Linked DNA regions of Homo sapiens: regions 1, 2, 4, 5 and 6 are each linked to region 3. Evidence: promoter capture Hi-C in 16 types of primary human blood cells and fetal thymus (Javierre and others, 2016). All regions are on one chromosome and are shown on one strand. The core of a region is centred on a gene start or on the middle of the fragment in contact, and the rest is flanking DNA. Distances in the headings are between cores, read along the strand shown. Region 1 overlaps SNRPF (small nuclear ribonucleoprotein polypeptide F). Region 2 overlaps NEDD1 (NEDD1 gamma-tubulin ring complex targeting factor). Region 3 holds the start of DEPDC4 (DEP domain containing 4). Region 4 holds the start of NFYB (nuclear transcription factor Y subunit beta). Region 5 overlaps LOC414300 (a long non-coding RNA gene). Region 6 overlaps LTA4H (leukotriene A4 hydrolase).

The links. The method cuts DNA at HindIII sites, captures the fragments that hold promoters and counts their contacts. A CHiCAGO score of 5 or more calls a contact.
Region 1: a fragment that was not itself captured here is called in contact with the fragment with the promoter of DEPDC4 in region 3 in 1 of 17 cell types (non-activated CD4 T cells); the score reaches 5.8 in non-activated CD4 T cells.
Region 2: a contact is called between a fragment that was not itself captured here and the fragment with the promoter of DEPDC4 in region 3, in 1 of 17 cell types (fetal thymus). The highest score is 5.9, in fetal thymus.
Region 4: a contact is called between the fragment with the promoter of NFYB here and the fragment with the promoter of DEPDC4 in region 3, in 1 of 17 cell types (neutrophils). The highest score is 7.3, in neutrophils.
Region 5: a fragment that was not itself captured here is called in contact with the fragment with the promoter of DEPDC4 in region 3 in 1 of 17 cell types (neutrophils); the score reaches 5.2 in neutrophils.
Region 6: a fragment that was not itself captured here is called in contact with the fragment with the promoter of DEPDC4 in region 3 in 1 of 17 cell types (total CD4 T cells); the score reaches 6.7 in total CD4 T cells.

What each region holds. Positions count from the first base shown.
Region 1 is chr12:95,861,020-95,863,836 of GRCh38, reverse strand. It overlaps SNRPF (small nuclear ribonucleoprotein polypeptide F), which reads right to left. Exons shown (of 4, transcript NM_003095.5): 2 at 2,544-2,669. Among named protein-coding and RNA genes, the nearest start is that of SNRPF, 3.5 kb to the right of the region's middle. The HindIII fragment of the contact is 5,419 bases long and covers 1-2,817 here.
Region 2 is chr12:96,908,929-96,911,984 of GRCh38, reverse strand. It overlaps NEDD1 (NEDD1 gamma-tubulin ring complex targeting factor), which reads right to left. Exons shown (of 16, transcript NM_152905.4): 3 at 2,090-2,233. The coding sequence starts at 2,225. Among named protein-coding and RNA genes, the nearest start is that of NEDD1, 3.2 kb to the right of the region's middle. The HindIII fragment of the contact is 441 bases long and covers 1,076-1,516 here.
Region 3 is chr12:100,265,408-100,268,328 of GRCh38, reverse strand. It overlaps DEPDC4 (DEP domain containing 4), which reads left to right and starts at 1,250. Exons shown (of 10, transcript NM_001364818.2): 1 at 1,250-1,409. The coding sequence starts at 1,253. SCYL2 (SCY1 like pseudokinase 2) reads right to left here and starts at 1,152. Exons shown (of 18, transcript NM_017988.6): 1 at 537-1,152. RefSeq lists enhancers at 518-577, 588-657, 1,328-1,407 and silencers at 728-807, 908-957. The HindIII fragment of the contact is 4,398 bases long and covers 303-2,921 here.
Region 4 is chr12:104,136,555-104,139,528 of GRCh38, reverse strand. It overlaps NFYB (nuclear transcription factor Y subunit beta), which reads left to right and starts at 1,319. Exons shown (of 8, transcript NM_006166.4): 1 at 1,319-1,388. RefSeq lists enhancers at 582-751, 1,575-2,166, 2,167-2,760 and silencers at 1,136-1,435, 1,486-1,585, 1,686-1,765, 1,826-1,955. The HindIII fragment of the contact is 8,431 bases long and covers 1-2,974 here.
Region 5 is chr12:105,103,406-105,106,156 of GRCh38, reverse strand. All of the region lies in intron 1 of LOC414300 (a long non-coding RNA gene), which reads left to right. Among named protein-coding and RNA genes, the nearest start is that of WASHC4, 3.0 kb to the left of the region's middle. The HindIII fragment of the contact is 1,044 bases long and covers 729-1,772 here.
Region 6 is chr12:96,030,870-96,033,808 of GRCh38, reverse strand. The region is part of intron 1 of LTA4H (leukotriene A4 hydrolase); the gene reads left to right. Among named protein-coding and RNA genes, the nearest start is that of LTA4H, 3.2 kb to the left of the region's middle. RefSeq lists an enhancer at 758-927. The HindIII fragment of the contact is 170 bases long and covers 1,404-1,573 here.

The sequences.
Region 1 (2,817 bases), core at 184-2,683, 4.4 Mb after region 3:
GGGCCTTTGTACTTGCTGTTCCCTCAAACTGGGATGCTTTTCCCCAGATACTCAACTGAGTTGTACACTAATTCTGGTATCTTCCAGAATTCGCCTCCTCAGAGAGGCTACTCTATATAATATTGCACATACTGTCTTCCCCCTTTTCTTCATGGATGGCATCTATCATGCCTATTATCACATTATATTACCACCTCCCACCACTAAACCATAAACTGTTGAGGGCAGGGACTTTGTTTTGTTCAATGCTATATTCACAGTGCCAGGCACATAATGGAATTCAATAAATATTTGCTGAGTGAACAAATTCAAACACTGGTATCAATATGGTTGACTACTCAAAGTGGTTGGTTACTCAGACATTTTGCAACTCTAGCAGGGTCACTAGCAAGCTATATTAATTCTAAAACAAATATTAAGTGGTAATTCTTTTATTATTGAGATGTTAATTTCCATAGCATAAAATTCACCCTTTTAAAGTGTACAATTCAGTGGTTTTCAGTATATTCAAAAACCTGTGCAACTATCACCACTACTTCCAGAATATTTTCATCACAATTCATATACTTCCCAGATTTTTCTATGGTCTTGGTAAATGACTCCTGTTTAAGGAATTTTCCACACTCAAACTATGCTTTGGGGGCCTTAATGTCATGTGCTCAGGTGGTAATTGCCTAAGTTAAGGAAAATCATAGCTCTCTGCCTACTTAAGTACTCCTTTTAGTACTCTGCTTACAAGTATGGAATCCTTGGATTCATGATTGGATTGACCACCTGTCTTGATAGCCTTTAAAAACCTGCCTGGAAACTACTACCATTAAAAAAACAACAAAAAATCCCAAACTAATTTTTTAAATGTGCAAAAGACATGAACAGGCATTTCTCCAAAGATAAACAAATGGCCAATAAACACATGAAAAGGTGCTCAACATCATTAGCCAAATGCAAATCAAAACCACAATAAGATACCACTTCACACCCATTAGAATAACTATTTTATAAACACCCATAGAAAATAACAAGTGTTGGTGAGGATGTGGAGAAACTGGAACCGTTGTGCATTGCTGGTGGGTATGTAAAACCACGTAGCTGCTGTGGAAAATAGTGTGACAGTTACTCAAAAGAAAAAAAAAAATTTCTCTGTCATCCAGGCTAGAGTGCAGTGATCACAGCTCACTGCAGCTTCAACCTCCCCAGGCTCAGGTAATCCTCCCAACTCAGCTTCCTGAGTAGCTGGGAATATAGCTGCCCACACCATCATGCCTAGCTAGTTTTTGTATTTTTTTTGTAGAGATGCAGTTTCACTATGTTGCCCAGGCTGGTCTCAAACTCCTGGGCTCAAGCAATCTGCTGCCTCAGCCTCCCAAAGTGCTGGGATTACAGGCATGAGCCACCACGCTTGGCCTCCTTAAAAAATTAAACATAGAATTACCAGTAATCCAGTAATTCCACTTCTGGGTATATACCCCAAAGAGCTGAAAGCAGTGACTGGAACAGACATTCGTATACCCATGTTCACAGCAGCATTATTTACTACAGTCCAAAGAGGGAAGCAACCCAGTGTCCACCAAGAGGCAAATGGATTAGAATGTGGTATATCCATATAATGGAATATTATTCAGTCATAAAAAGGAAATTCTGACACATGCTACAACATGGATGAACCTTGAATAATACACTACGTTAAGTCAAACAAGCCAGACACAAAAGGATAATACACAATTCCACTTACATGAGGTATTATGCACGGTCAAATTCATAGACATGTAGACTAGTGGTTACCAGGGGTTAGTTAGGTGGAGGAAGGAATGGAAAATTATTGTTTAATGTTTAATTGTAAAATTATTGTTTAATGGAAAATTATTGTTTAATGGGCAAAAAATTTCACTTTTGGATGGTAAACAAGTTCCAGAAATGGACAACGGTGATGGCTGCAGAACAATGTGAAGGTACTTAATGCCACTGAATTATACACTTAAAAATGGTTAGAGTGGCAAAATTGTAATGTATATTTTACCACAATAAAAAGATAATTAATTACAAAAAAACCCACCAAAACACATGGCTGAATCATTTACAGAAACTCGTTTGACAGACATACAGTCAGTTCAATTCCTTTGGCAGATCTGTCTTTCCCCTGAAGGAATGAATTTCCTCAATAGCTTTGGTGTTGTGCCTTTAGCATTCATTAAAAGACTCAATAATTTCACTTGAAAACTTTCTTTCAGGGCTAAATGATGAGAAATGTTTTGTTTTCTCCAGCAAAGTAGTGTGTTTCCCTTATGGTATTATTATGAATCAAGTGTCTGAGCTCTTCCTACTTTAACTACTAGGAATAAAATCTGTAGCTGAATTCTGGTTTAAGTCCATGTCTTGTACCTAGTATATCACAGTATCCCTCCTGGCTTTGACTTTATTTTTGAATTTTGCCGTATATTTGTCAATTTAATTGTATGTATTCTTATTAGTCAGACTAAACCTTTGAGAAATAAGGTGAAGCAAAATAAATGCAATGTTATGACCTTTACAGCTCTTTAGCTTACCTGCATGTTCATGTAGCCATCTACAGATACCAGATAGCCCTTGTACTCCATTCCCCACTTAAGTTTCACCATCACTGGCTTTCCTGTTAGTCCATTGAGGAAAGGTTTGGGATTGAGGGGTAAACTCTGCACAAAGAACAAAAAAGGATCTAATTAATTATTTTTCCTCCCACCACCAACTCTCTTCTACCGAATCACCAATATTTTGTGGTATGCAAATGAAGAAAACTTTTGACTCCTTATTATTTTAGTACATAATTTTCACTTTTATTTG
Region 2 (3,056 bases), core at 47-2,546, 3.4 Mb after region 3:
GAGCCATAACAAATTAAAATATCAGAAGTTTAAATCTGTGCTTTTTAGCAATTAAAATCTGTGAGTAAAAGCAATGGAGAAAGGTTAATTAGACACTCAGAATCCCTAACTGCATTAACTTTTGAATGTTCTGTATAACTTTCAGGTATTTTGTAAACAGAGCATAGACTGTAATTTTATTATGATACATGATGCAAATCAAATCATTCCTACCTAGATATTACCATAGCGAGAAAAACCATTTCCCTTTCCTTGACTTCTTCCTGTTTACCACTACTTTTCTCCTTAGAATATAGAAAAAAAAGGACTGAAACATAATGTGGGTGGGTAATCTAGTTCTTTTTTATTTCTCTTGTAGTTTTAGAAATCATGAGAAAGTGAGGAACGTAAGTTAAAGGACAAGAAACAAAAAACTAATCTCTCTGGTGTCTCACATTAACCCCATTCTTGGAATCTATACTATGTGGACCCCAAGTTGCTAAGGCTGGGAACTCCTTGTTCTTCAGTAATTAACCTCCATGGAAGTGATCAAAGCCTTATTAAGAATAAGACTGTATGAAGGCTTTCAGTGCACATCTGCTCATGCAAGAAAACTGTAAGACCAATTTCCAAAAGTCATACAACACTATCTCATAGCTACATCAGTTTTGTTGTTAGACTATTAAGTAGCACATCAGTAAATGCCAACTCCTAGTAAAACTTAAAACAAAAGTCAACCAAAAAATAATCTTACTACAAATTGCTACCTTTCTCTTATATAGTAAGAGGGAAAATTAAGCTCTAAACATAATGAAAATCTAAAAATAGAGAACAGCAACTTCATATACTTGTCGCTCTCTTTAAAATATTTTCCCTATTACACATCTGGAAAGTCCTTCAAAAATGTAGTCACTTCACCATGAGTTTGATTAACAGAGTACCAAAGTAATTTGTTTTACTGCAAAATCAAGGAATGATAAGGAGGTAAATTTAATTCAGTAAGAAAATTTGTCCTTCTTGTTATATACATGCAAGAATAGTAAGTCATATAAAACTTTTAATATTTTTGTTCCTGAACCAGTCACATTTTAAAGCTTTGATTTTTTTATCAGAAAGTAGAATACTTTGGTGTTGATAAAAATCAGATAAATGTTAAATCTTAATTTGTTAAGAAATAGCGTATGAGTTTCACAAAAGAAAATTTCTAACATACCAATTACATAAAACATTTTCACATAAAAGGTGATAGGAGCACTGTGGTCACAGCAGTGGTTCTCTACTGGGAGTGATTCAGGCAATTCTGGAAACGTTTTGGGTTGTCACAACTAGAGGCTATTGGTACCTAACGGGTGAAGACCAATAAACCTCCACGTGGTACAACATACAGGAAAGGTCCACAACAAATTTTCTGCCCCAAAAAGTCAATAGCACAGGGTTCAGAAACCCTAGTTTACAGTCTTCACTCCCTCATTTTATTTTATCCACATTGAGGAGCTCACCAAGACAGGGAAGGTGTCAATCAGAAACATAAAAAGCTTAGAAAAGTTCAATCTAGGTAACTTTACTATGTCTGTTTAGGAAATGTAATTTTCATCACACACACAGAGAGGAAGGAAGATATGGAGAGTACATTAGTAAGATGGAGATATTGGGCAATTTTTTATCTCCTCCCCAACTTGCTTCTGCCTTCAAGTTCTGTCTTTAATTTTCAGTTCAGATCCACAAATACCCAAATGTAGATGCAAAAACTCATTCCAAAACCTTTTGGAATTATTTCCACAACTACCAACCTTATTCCATTTGGTTCAATAAGAAATTTTTGATAACTAATTCTATGGTGTAGACAGAATATACTTTTTTTAATAGCAGTGTTTTCAAATGAAGTGGGTTGTAACTAAATTTTTTTTAAATGAACGCAACAGATAAAATCAGAGTGCATTCATATGATATATTGTTTTGTAAATTACTATTTTACGTTATCTATCCTTGGTAGCAATGCAAAACACATTACTCAGTATGAGGCACATGCAAAAGTTTCATTGACAGTGGTTGTTTAACCTAATAAGCGGTTTGTGTGTGTGTGTGTGTGTTTTTTTTTTTTAAAGGATACTATTGCTGCTCCAACATATTGAGCTGATTCCATGTGGTGATGTGTGTGGGTTGAATTTATCCACCAATGTCATAGATGAAGCATCCCATATTTTAATATCATCTCCTGATGAAGCAAATCTGAGGTTTTCCTGCATGACTGCGCCTACAAATAGTTTAAAACAATGTATTTTAAAAACATTTAAGAATAGACATACTCAAAAAAAGGTCAAAATCTAATCTAAAACAAGTGGCTCTAACTCATTCATTTTTGTTCCAAACAGTGCAGTCACCAAAGCAGTTGAAGTGATTTTCCTAAAACATAAGCCAGGTCGCATTCTCTTAGCTGACCCTTCCAATGGCTCCTCACAGTAATGATAATGAAATCCAGCCTCCTTAGCCTGCCTTACATGTCCTGGCCCCCATGTAACTCTCCTCTTTCTTTTCACTGGCCTTCTCTCTGCCTCATGCAAAGGCAAAGTCATTCTCACCTCAGTGTCTTTTCATTTGCTGCTCCCTGTGCCTAAGATGTTCTCCCCAGATTCCCATGGTCATCTCCTTCTCATCATTCAGGTCTTAGCTCAAATGTTTCCTCCTATGAAAGGCCTTTCCTGACCACCCTGGCTAACGCAGTCCCTTCCTTACCTGGTAAGGGACTTAGCAGTTTACCCTATATCCCAATACCTGATTTCATTTTTTTCATAGCACTTCCTAATATCTGAATTTTTTTTTTTTTTTTTTGAGACGGAGTTTCACTCTTGTTGTCCAGGCTGGAGTGCAATGGTGTGATCTCGGCTCACCACAACCTCCGCCTTCCAGGTTCAAGTGATTCTCCTGCCTCAGCCTCCCGAGTAGCTGGGATTACCGGCATGCACCACCACACCCGGCTAATTTTGTATTTTTAGTAGAGACGGGGTTTCTCCATGTTGGTCAGGCTGGTCTCGAACTCCTGACCTCAGGTGATCTGCCCGCCTCAGCCTCCCAAAGTG
Region 3 (2,921 bases), core at 1-2,500:
ACAGTGGCAGGCTGATTTGGAGCATTTTTGCTAAACTATTTATTTTTCAGAACGGAGATAGGCTACTTAGAAAACTCACTCATAGTATCCAATGTTTTTAGAAAGTGTCATCACAAATAATTCCTGAGTTTGACGTACTAAAAAATAGTTGACACCTTCCAATGAAGTCACTACAGGCATAGCGCTTTTAAGCAGCTTGTCTGGAGCCTCCTCGAGTGCCTTAGAGGGTGGATTTGATAATATGGCCTCCTTAATTACGGATCACAGGTATGTGCTCAAAGTCCAATAAGTTTTTGCAAGCTTTATCGGTCTAAACCCTCCTCCATCCGTATTCTCCCGTTTAGAAAAACAAGACTGCAGGAGTAACCGTGGGGTTTTTTCTCTTAACAAAACCCCTGCCCCACCCACCTCACACACAATAACCTTCCATTCCAGAACTAAAGCTACTGTCAGAGAAGGACGGCGGGCGGCAGGGCCCTGGCTGGTGACCCAGGCTACCGGATTCCGGACCTCAGAACTGAGGTGAACTCTCTCACCCGGTCCTAGAGTAGTGTCCAATGTCCCCGAAAGGTACTACGTTCTCCACCACCGAAACCCGAGCTCTCGAGCCGGCATGGGGGGCTCTCCCTCCGGCAGCTGACTTCGATCCCGGGTCTCCCGTCGCCTCAAGGCCTCTTTCGAGGACTCGGCCCTCTCGGATCCGCTCCCCGGAGCTCGCTGCTCGTCCAGCCCCGCTTTGCGCGGGCGCCGACCGCCGATCGCCCGGCCGGCCGCCGGCAGGCCCGTCACCAGGCAACACCCACCAGCCTGAGCGGCCCTGGGAGGCCTAACCCGGGCGCGAGTCCTCCATTCCCTCCTCGCCGGCTCCGGGAGCCCAGGCGAGAGAGCCGCCGGTGAGGGAGGTCGGTCGGTGCCGGCGGCCGGTCACTTACCTCTTCCTTCTTCCAGGAGGGGCGGTGCTGGGGCTCTTTCCCCCCGCCCCCCTAATAAACGCCTCCTGGCTGTTCCTGCTCTGCCTTCGTGCCTGGCCACTGACTCTGGCTTTACTCCATATCCTCCGCCGCCCCCGCGGCCGCAAACGTCGGAGCTAGAAGGAAAGGGGTGGGGAGGGGAGGGACCGGGGACGAAGAGTAAGGGAGGGGGAAAAAGACTAAAAGACCTGCCGGCCGGGGGCATGACGTCACTTCCTGCCGGTTCGGAAGAGGCGGAGCCAGTACTTCTCTCCGCCCCGGGTGTCAGGTGGGGCGGGGCTATGGTGCCAGGGGAGGAGCCAGCGCGCGAGCTTATGGCGGTTCTTTTGACTCCGAGGTTCCGTAGACTTGTCAGTCAGAACGAGCTTCCGGGCCCAGGGCTGAACGGGCCAAGTTCCAGGAACCGTAGAGATGGCTTCTGCCGGAAAAGGAGGACAGGTAGCCCTGTATATCCTAGCCAAATGTGCAGTGAAGGTGGAGGGGGCAGCTGAAGGGAGCAGGCGGCTGGGACTCTGCTCCTCATTGGTCCAGGGCCCCGCCCATTTCCTAGCCCCGCCCCCTTCCTGCCCTACCAGGCACTGGACTGGGGGACCCAGGACTGAGGCTTTTTAGGGGTTACTGTGGTGAAGTGCCCTTGGAGCGTGCAGGAAAGCGTTTTTTCTCAAACTTTAATATACATACGAATCCCTAGGATCTTGTGAAAGTGCAAATTCTGATTGAGGAGTAGGGTCTGATAATCTGCGTTTCTAATACATGTCCAGATGGCACCAATGCTGCTGGTCCCTAGGCTACACTTACAGCAACAAGGGGTTAATGTACTAGAGGGCAAATTCCTTGAGCTAGAGGAGTTATTTCTTTAATCTAGCCTACTTGTTTAATGAAGGTTAGAGAGGTAGACTGTCTATGGAAAACAGGCTGTACCGCTGTATTTTCCACCTACCCCGTCGAGTACCCTCCTGCCCACCTCCGCCCATCACTTTCTGGCCTCCCCTCCTCAGTCTCCGCTCTGCCCACAATGTCTGGGGATAAGATTTCTTGAGTGATTAGACGGGTAACTTCTGTTACAGAAGGAATTTGAGGGTGGTGGATTTTTATTTCTGTCATTTTATCGTAAACATATGTATAGTTGGGCATACTTTTGCGGTTATGCATAGTTGGAGAAGAGAGCTTAAGTTCTTGGATTCTACCCACTTCCCCCTGCAAATCTAGAAAAAACATTCTAGAAGTTCTAAGTTATTCCCTTATCATTCTTTAATTTTTTTAATTAATTTTAATTAAATTTAATTTTAATTAAAATTTTACTGGGGTACGGAAGAATGAAGAATGACTGCGAACTATAGGTTTCTTTGTGGAATGATGCAATGGTCTGAAATTAGATAATAGTGATGGCTGCACAACTTTGTGAATGTACTAGAAACACTGAATTGTACACTTTAAAAGGGTACATCCTCTTTCATCAGCCACCATTACAATCCTTCTTCCCCAAGGTTACTCGTTTGAAGTTTATTCTTCCAGATCTTTCTATTTATTTACATACATTTTTACATAGGTTGGGAATTCATTTTTACCTAAGTAGGATAATAATATACAAGTTGTTCTGCTCAGCTCATTTTTAAAAAATTTTTGTTTTGGGTTTTTCTTTTTCCCTACTTAATGAGATCCTTGCACACTATAAACATAGCTCTACTTCATTCTTTCTAATGGCTGGCTACTATTCTATAGTAAGGGTATACCATAATTTATTTAACTGTTTTTTTCAGGTAATAGACTGTTTTTTTTCCCTTGCCCAGGCTGGAGTGCAATGGCGTGATCTCGGCTCACCGCAACCTCCACCTCCTGGTTCTAGCAATTCTCCTGCCTCAGCTTCCCAAGTAGCTGGGATTACAGGCGTGCGACACCATGCCCAGCTAAATTTTTTTGTGTTGTATTTTTGGTAGAGATGGGGTTTCA
Region 4 (2,974 bases), core at 70-2,569, 3.9 Mb before region 3:
TTTAGTAGAGACGGGGTTTCGCCATGTTGGTCAGGCTGGTCTCGAACTCCTGACCTCAGGTGATCGGCCTGCTTCGGCCTCCCAAAGTGCTGGGATAACTTTTTTTTTTTAAAGGGCTTTCTATGTATACATTATCCCAAACAACCCTGAGAAGCAGACATTTGGCCAAGATCACAAGCCTGTAAGAAGGGGAGTTGGAATTCAAGTCAGGTTGTCTGATGACAGTGGCATTGCTACTTACTCCTCTTGTCACAATTTGGGGCTTTCATTTGTCTTTTCTTCCATACTTGCCGCAGAAATGTTTAAATACTCTGAGAAACAGTAGGAACTCTATAAATAAAAGATCTCTGTATTTTTACATAATCAAAGCTGGAGAGTTTAATGTGGTGCAGGCCACTCGGTTAGTGGAAGCAGAGGGCATGCCATCCCCAGCTCCGGTTGCAGTGAGTGGATCCAGTGTTGGATTACCCACCTCTGGGATGGTCACTGCTAAGCGAAGCTGAACTCAGGACTGCAGTTTGAGAAAGACAGCGAAGGAGCTTGGCTGCACAGAGGCAAGAACGGGCCACGGATTCTTGCAGCCAAAATGTCATCTGGTTGGGAAAAGCCGCTTGTCAATCTGCAGCTACTAGAGGGGTGGGGGTGGGTGGAAAATGCAGCATCTTAAGTTCAAGATTCAGGGTGAAGGCTGGCTAGACTTAGCAGGGGTCTGCATCTTTAGATGAAATGTGAAAAACACCCAAGCTCAGGGACCAAATGACAGGGAGCGCTGTGCATGCGGCGACGCTAACAGGGACCCAAGGAAAGAAAACACGAGGCGCTGAAGGCGCTCCAGGAGGCCCCCGCCGTTCAGACCCTCCCGGTGGCTCGGGCGCGTCGTCCTAGGGGGCGGCTTCTGTCCTTGGTTTCCCCTTCTTAAAAATCCAGGCGCAGGCAGGCTGAGCTCAGGCGGCTGAGGCACCTCCACGTGGCGGGGGAAGGGGTGACAAAGAGAGGGACGCCCGAGAGATCCCGCTTCGCACAGGCCCGGGTCAGCACCGGGAAGGAGGCCCGCCTAGACCCGAACGGCGCGCCCGGGCAGGGCCCTGGAAGACCTCGCGCCTAGAGGAGCGGCATCCGGAGCGGCGCGGAGGCCTCACAGGAACGCGGGACTGGGCCGGGGGCGGGGCGGGGCCGGGGGCGGGGCGGGGCGGGGCGGGGCCGCGGCGGGCGGGCGCGCGGGCGGCGCGGAGGGAGGGTGTCGCGCCGAGGGAAGCGGCCCGCGGCGGAGGGAGGGGAGGCCGAGTCCTGGAAGCGGAGCTCCGCGCTGGGACTGGTTCCTTCGCAGCCATTTTCTGTCCAACCAAACAGCCGATTGGAGACGGGAGCCAACCAGGGCTGCATTGGAGGTTTGTGTCTCGCTTCGGCCAATGATCGCTCCTAAACCGACTCCACTTTAGCTCGAATGAAATGTCCGTCTCCTCCCGGCGCCGTCCCCGCCGCCAACGCCGCCGCGGCCGGGGGCACTAGCCTCCCGCCCTCCCGCGCGGGCCGAGGCCGGGCCCCGCGCCTGCGAGGCCGCTCCCGCAGCGGGCCGGGCCGGGGAGCGGGCGCGGGGCCGCGGCGCGGCTCTTTGTGCGCCGGGCTGAGGAGCGGCGGGACGCGGGCCAGGCCACCTCACCCTCGCCGCCGTTGAGCTCCGGGCCCGGGGCCGAGGAGGGGCCGCGGGGCTGCGTCGGGGCCCCGCTCTCGACGGCGTCCCGGGCCGGCTCCATTTTGTGCGGGGAGCCGGCCGAGGGGCGGGAGACGCGGCCCGGGCCCTGGCCCCGTAGCCCCGGCGGCGGCGCGAGTCCCCGGGGGCGCCCTCCTCCCGCCCGCGGGGCTGTGGCGGGGCCCGGCGCTTTGTCTGCCCGCACATCCCGGGGGCCGCGCGGCGGGTGGGAGGCAGGCGTTGGGCGCGGGGCCGGGGCGGCCGGGCGAGTCAGGGGATGCGCTCTGGGGGCGGCCTCCTGGCACTCGCAGGGCTGACAGGTCGCCGGGACCAGGCCGTGGGGCCGGGGCCACCCAGGCACCTGCGTGGGGAGGAAGGCATGGCTTTAGCTTCCCCGCAGCCTGGTTTGCGCGTAAAGAATGCAGCCATCTGGCGGTTTGCGGTCCCTGTACTTGCCCCGAAGGTGGGAAGGAAGCCCTTCGGATTGGACTAAGGTTTTAATCATTAGTGGTGGGAGGCGGGAGGATATGCAGGGCCTTAAAGAACGGTAGTCTTAGAGAACAAAGAATTACAGAGCACCCACAAATCGTAATCTCGCCCAAAGCACTCTAACAGGATAATTTAAACAAGGTTAGGTAGCCTGCGACCTTTAAAAAAATGGCATCCCACTAACCCGCATGGACCCCATAGTTGCGTGGTTCGTGCTACAAATCACTGGGGTGGTTTCATCTCTCTTAGTATGGAAACTAATCAGCAACATAAAGTGATGAAAGCAAACGGATCAATATCAGTGGCACTAATCAGTGGGGGGTTTATTTGTAAAGTATTGAAAGTTTAACCAAAATTCCTTAAAAGGCAAATTATTCCTTCCCTGCATTGCTCTTGTATCTTAATTTAAGGATTACTGTATATTGATGCAAAACTCTGGTTGTTGATGCCAAAGAATGGAGGGTGGAGGAAGGGACTACTGCTTTTCTTGGATACAAATTTGCATTTCTTAAAACATTAAACAGATGTATGCATTCCCTTGAGCTTTTACATATATCAACCTGCCCTTAAGAAAATATACACCATATGAGGTGACAGTGTTTTTCTTTAATGTACTGAGTCTAAATATATACTGAATCAACTATTTGGGTGAGTGAGTGTGGTGTGGTATGACTCCCTGCCCACACCCCCCTCTCCCATTCCAAGCAAAATACATAAATATAGCTCCCATGTTTTAAGTGTTCTGAGGGCTTATTTTTTCAAAGACACTCTTTAAAAAATAACATTTCTCGTTAC
Region 5 (2,751 bases), core at 1-2,500, 4.8 Mb before region 3:
TTTAACCTCTGCCTCAATTTCCTCATCTATAAAATGAAAATAAAATAAAACTAGTAAACACCTTGTGGGATTCTTACGAGGACTAAATTAGTTAATACATATAAGGTACATAGAACAATACCAACCACATACTGTACCAGGTTGCTATTATGAATCAATATAGATTTATCTTAAAAAGATCTCAGAAGTCCCAGATCTCACAAGTCCCAGTGTGGTGGCTCATGCCTGTAATCCCAGTACTTTGGGAGGCCAAGGTGGGTGGATCACTTGAGGTCAGGAGTTTGAGACCAGCCTGGGCAACGTGGTGAAACCCTGTCCCTACTAAAAATATAAAAATTAGATGGGCATGGTGGTGCCTGCCTATAGTCCCAGCTACTCTGGAGGCTGAGGCAGGAAAGTCGTCTGAGCCACTACACTCCAGCCTGGGCAACAGAGCAAGACTCCATCTCAAAAAAAAAAAAAAAACTCAGGGATTTTCTGTCTTGATCTTAAATATGTTTAAATCAAATTTCACAGCCTATAATTTCAAATTTTGTTAGAGAATTACAAATTAGATACCAAATAGAAAAGCACATTCACTAAATGAAAAGTGCTATCTGAAAGTTATTTATAAAAATGTCCTATTGTTCTTAGACGTAGTCTGCAGAAGGCAAATCATTATTTTAAGTAATCACATATTCTTCATTCTACTACTCTTCATTCACACGGTACTTTCTGAAAAGCAAGCTTGGAAATAGAAGGAGAAACTTTTCATATGGGCAATATTGTGCTATTCTGAGAGCTTCTGTGAACTTTAGAACAGCTGCCTACAGAAGGTGCCTGCCTGCCAGTTCCTAGGAATCTGTGCCTTTAACTTACAGCCCCATATACCCACACCTTAAGTTCTAGTTTATTCCATACCAAAATATTTTACATATATGTTATATAGCTAAGTTCTTGGTGAATTTGTTTATTAACTTACATTAAAAGTCTTCTTCCAACTGCTATTCACCCCAGCAATCCCATTACTGGATTTTTACCCAGAGAAATGTAAATCATTATACCATGAAGATACATGCATGGGAATGTATCTTCCCATTGCAGCACTATTCACAATAGCAAAAACATGGAGTCAACCTAAATGCTCCTGAATGACAGATTGGATTTTTAAAATGTGGTACATATATACCATGGAATACTATGCAGCCAAGAAAAAGAACGAGATCATAGCTTTTGCAGGAACATGGATGGAGCTGGGGCTGTTATCCTTGGCAAACTTAGCACAGGAACAGAAAACCAAATACCACATGTTCTCATTTATAAGTGGGAGCTAAATGAGGAAAGCTCATTAACACAAAGAAGGAAACAACAGACACTGGAGGCTAACTGAGAGTGGAGGGTGGGAGTGGAGAGAGGAGCAGAAAAGATAACTATTGGGTACAGGGCTTAATACCTGGGTGATGAAATAATCTGTACCACAAACCCCCGTGACATGAGTTTACCTATGTAACAAACCTTTACATGTACCCCTAAACCTAAAATAAAAGTTTAAAATAAATAAATACAATCTAAAATAAATAAAATCTTCTTCCTACAATAGAAATTCTATGGCAATAACTCACTAGAGACATTTCACTTAGTAGTTTGTCACAGAATCCTGCGTGTATCTGTTTAAAAAATTCCTAATATGTTAATTCATGTATTTATTTACAAAGTAATCCCTCACTTGAACAACCACTATAGATGTGTGACAGGTCTTCTCTCTCCACTGTCCACATTCTCTGTGTGAAGCTTCTCGAAACCTATCTGATCAGGTCATGCCCTTTTAGATCCTTCCCATTGCCTATGGTATGGAATTTATGCTTCATAGCATGTAACTCAAGGCTTCTTCCAATCTGCCCTTTTATTTAAGGGATCCTAAAATCCTTGTACTGGTTGGTTATCAGTGATTGTGGAATCATATAGATTACCACTATATGTATTTTTAGTAGAGACGGGGTTTTGCCATGTTGGTCAGGCTGGTCTTGAACTCCTGACCTCAGGTGATCCGCCCACCTCGGCCACCCAAAATGTTGGGATTACAGGAGTGAGCCACTGCGCCCAGCCTAGATTACCGTTATATCTAATTCCCTGAATTCCTGGTTGGACCAAGTGCTTCGGCCCTGTGCTTCCATGGTATTTACCACTTCAAAGTTATCTATTGACATAATTATCTTCACTATTAAGTTATGTATTAGTTTCCTATTGCTGCTGTAGCAAATTGTCACCAACTTAGTGGTTAAAAGAGTACAAATTTATTATCTTCTAGTTCTAGAGGTCAGAATGCCAAAATCAGTCTCACTGGGCTAAAGTAAAGGTGTTAGTAGGGCTGATTCCTCTTGGACACTAAGAATCTATTTCTTTGCCTTTCTCATCTTCTGTGCATTACTTGAACCTCTTGTTTCTCCCATCACATTTCCTACTATTGACTGATTCACCTGCCTTCCTCTTATAATGACCCTTGTGATTACATCAAGCTCACACAGATAATCCAGGATAATCTCCTTATCTCAAAAATCCTTACCTTAATCATATCTGCAAAGTCCTTTTAAACATGTAAAGTAACATATTCACAGGGTGTAGGGATTAGGACATGAACATCTTTGGGCACCTGTTATTCAGCCTAATACAGACCATCAGCTCTTTGGTATCAGGGACCATGATTTATTCCCACATTCCACAGTCCCTGATACATGTTAAGCACTCAGAAAATAATTACAGTAAATATAGGAA
Region 6 (2,939 bases), core at 239-2,738, 4.2 Mb after region 3:
ACACCGCATGTTCTCACTCATAAGTGAGAGTTGAACAATGAGAACACATGGACACAGGGAGGGGAACATCACACACCAGGGCCTGTTGGGGGTAGGGGCCTAGGGGAGGGATAGCATTAGGAGAAATACCTAATGTAGCTGACGGGTTGATGGGTGCAGCAAACCACCATGGCATGTGTATACTTATGTAACAAACCTGCACGTTCTGCACATGTACCCCAGAACTTAAAGTATAATAATAAAAAAAGAAAAACCACACTGTGAGACTGCCATATTTGAACATGAGTTTATACGTCCTACATTCAAAAGTACTAGAGATTTAAAAATTAAGCAATTCAGGACACTTGTGTTCAGATGTGAATAATTGCAAACCAAAACCGAGGTCGCTAGTGGAAGAAATTTAAAGAGGTTTTTCTAATATATGAACAGCAAATTCTTCCTTGAATCTTTAGCTGCAACATATATTTCAGAAGAAATATTCCAATTGGTTTAAGATATAATAAAACCTTGACTAAGCCCCAAACCCACTCAAAGCTCTTAGTTAACTGGAAAGTTCTTGTTCTTCACCTTTATTTAAAAAAATTAAATTATAAACTATGCTGATAAAAGTAAAAGAATGAAAATTTTTATAGCTTTTTGCTGCTTAATGTGACCTCACACTTACCTTTGTTTTGTAAAATAAAAACTTAAAAAATTTATTATTTGAAGTTCAGGTGTACTTCAAATGTGCAGGTTTGTTACATAGGTAAACTTGTGTCATGAGGGTTTGTTGTACAGATTATTTTGTCACCCAGGTATTAAGCCTAGTACCCATTAGTTACTTTTCCTGATCCTTTCCCTTCTCCTACCCTCCACCCTCCAGTAAGCCCCAGTGTGTGTTCCCCACTGTGTATCCATGTGTTCTCATCACTTTTGTAGAATAAAAACTTTATCTCTGTTCTATAAGTAAGCAAGAGTCAGGATGTTTAAATTTTGAAAAGAATGTCCCAATCTAAAAATCTGCTCATTGTTTTTACATTCCCCAAATCTAGAGAAAAGTAAGATTTTAAAATAGTGATTTCTGGTTGGCATGTCTGTTTAGCAAATTAGAGCCTGGAATTATAATAATGTTACATGTTATACAAGGAAGGCAATTTATGGTACAAAATAACATGTTTATAATTGTTTGCTTATTTATGACAAAAGCCTTAGACCAGGAGCTTATCCTTATTAATTAGTTAATTAGTATTTATTTAAAGTTAACTTGTTTCTTTCCTCCACTAGATTGTGGACTCTTGAATGTAGAGACTGTGTTTCATAACTCTTTGTATCTCAGCTTCCTAGTATAGTCTATGTCTGGCATGTAGAGGACATTCAAAAGTTTGATTAATGGATGATTTCAATTAGAAAACAGTGCCTAAGCTTAACATGGGCTACATTGATAATAGTGCCAGCTGTATTTCAGAGGTGAGATGGGAAGACCCAGTGCCAGTGCGGAATCAGGAGAGACGTCATGTCTTCTTTTCCTCTCCGTTCTTAGAGTTTGTGATGTTGAGGAATGCTGAAGGAGACTTAATCGGACAAATTCTAAGCTTTCTAAAATTCTTTTCAAGTTTTGGGTTATTTACACTGAAGTTTGATCCTCCAAATTTATGATAACTTTCATACATTTGTTTCTTTTCACTGAAACCTTCAGAAATGTTTAGGTGTTCTTTTGGTTAGTGGCTCAAGAGGTTTTAGTGCCATGGCCAAGGCAGAAGCCAGCAGTTAACAATAGGTAATTCTGACTGCAAACCATCTTGTTTTCACTAAGTAAATGTCTCAACTGGGAATCAAATCAAGGTGGTTTTTTAGTTTTAGCTTTGTGTTTCACACATAAACCTATTTTTTTTCATCATATCCCTGCACATAGCAAGTAGAAAATGTAAATTTAGACATCATAATGAGGCATAAAGCTTTTTTTAAAAAAACTCTGCTTTGTTCTAGAAAGGACTGAGACTGCTTGAAGCAACATATATAGTATAAGATTAAAAATAATTAAATAATTTGCAGGAAGAGAGAATAGGGATAGGAGAAACAAAACCCATGGCATAAAGCCCTCTATACTTTAAAAGAAGTGGGCCACAGGGTTGACATGGAGCTTCCTACCAGCCTGTGCAAAAAAGGAATCAGATACCTATTCCATGTCAACTGACCAGCTACTGAGAAGTACAACTGCTTTTTAGGGGGATGGAGGGTATTGTTCAAAGAGGATACTGTGAAACATATAAATTATATCCTATAATTAGTAGAGCTGTTGATGCTTAACACGTTTCTTAAAAAGTACTAAATCCAACTTGTCAACAATCCAGTTTTCTTTATTTTTCTTTCTTATTACAGTTTTTGACTATTTTTTAAAAATAACATCGCTGAAATTTGAAGGGGAATTTTAAAAAGTAGTTTGCAAATGATAGTTGAGACTTAGGACTTGAGATAATACAGCTTAAACATTGCATTTTTTGTTTTCTCTTGGTCTAGGACCTGCTTCATGCATTAATTGACACCTAGTGTTTTTGAGGCAGAGTGCTAAACCCTGGGAATACAGACCTAAGTAACATTCTCTGTTTTAGAACCCTTAGTCTAATGGAAAAAGAAATCATTATAATGCAGTACAGTAAGTATTATAGGAAAGGGTAGGGCCAAGAGCTATAACAGACACAGGGGATATCAAAACGTTTCACAAAAAATAGTTGTCACTATGACACTTCTGATTCTGAACAGATTTGGAAAGTTTAGCCAATATAGAAAACAGAATATGTTCCACTGGGAAATGACCCAGTTAATTCATCTATATAAGCATGTGTTATAAACACAAGATACTCAAATCAAGTTTTTAAAACAAGTTAGCTATTCTGAATAGCTATTCAGAACTAGGTACTAGACTATGAAGAGACTAGAGAGGTACTAGAATATGAAGGAGT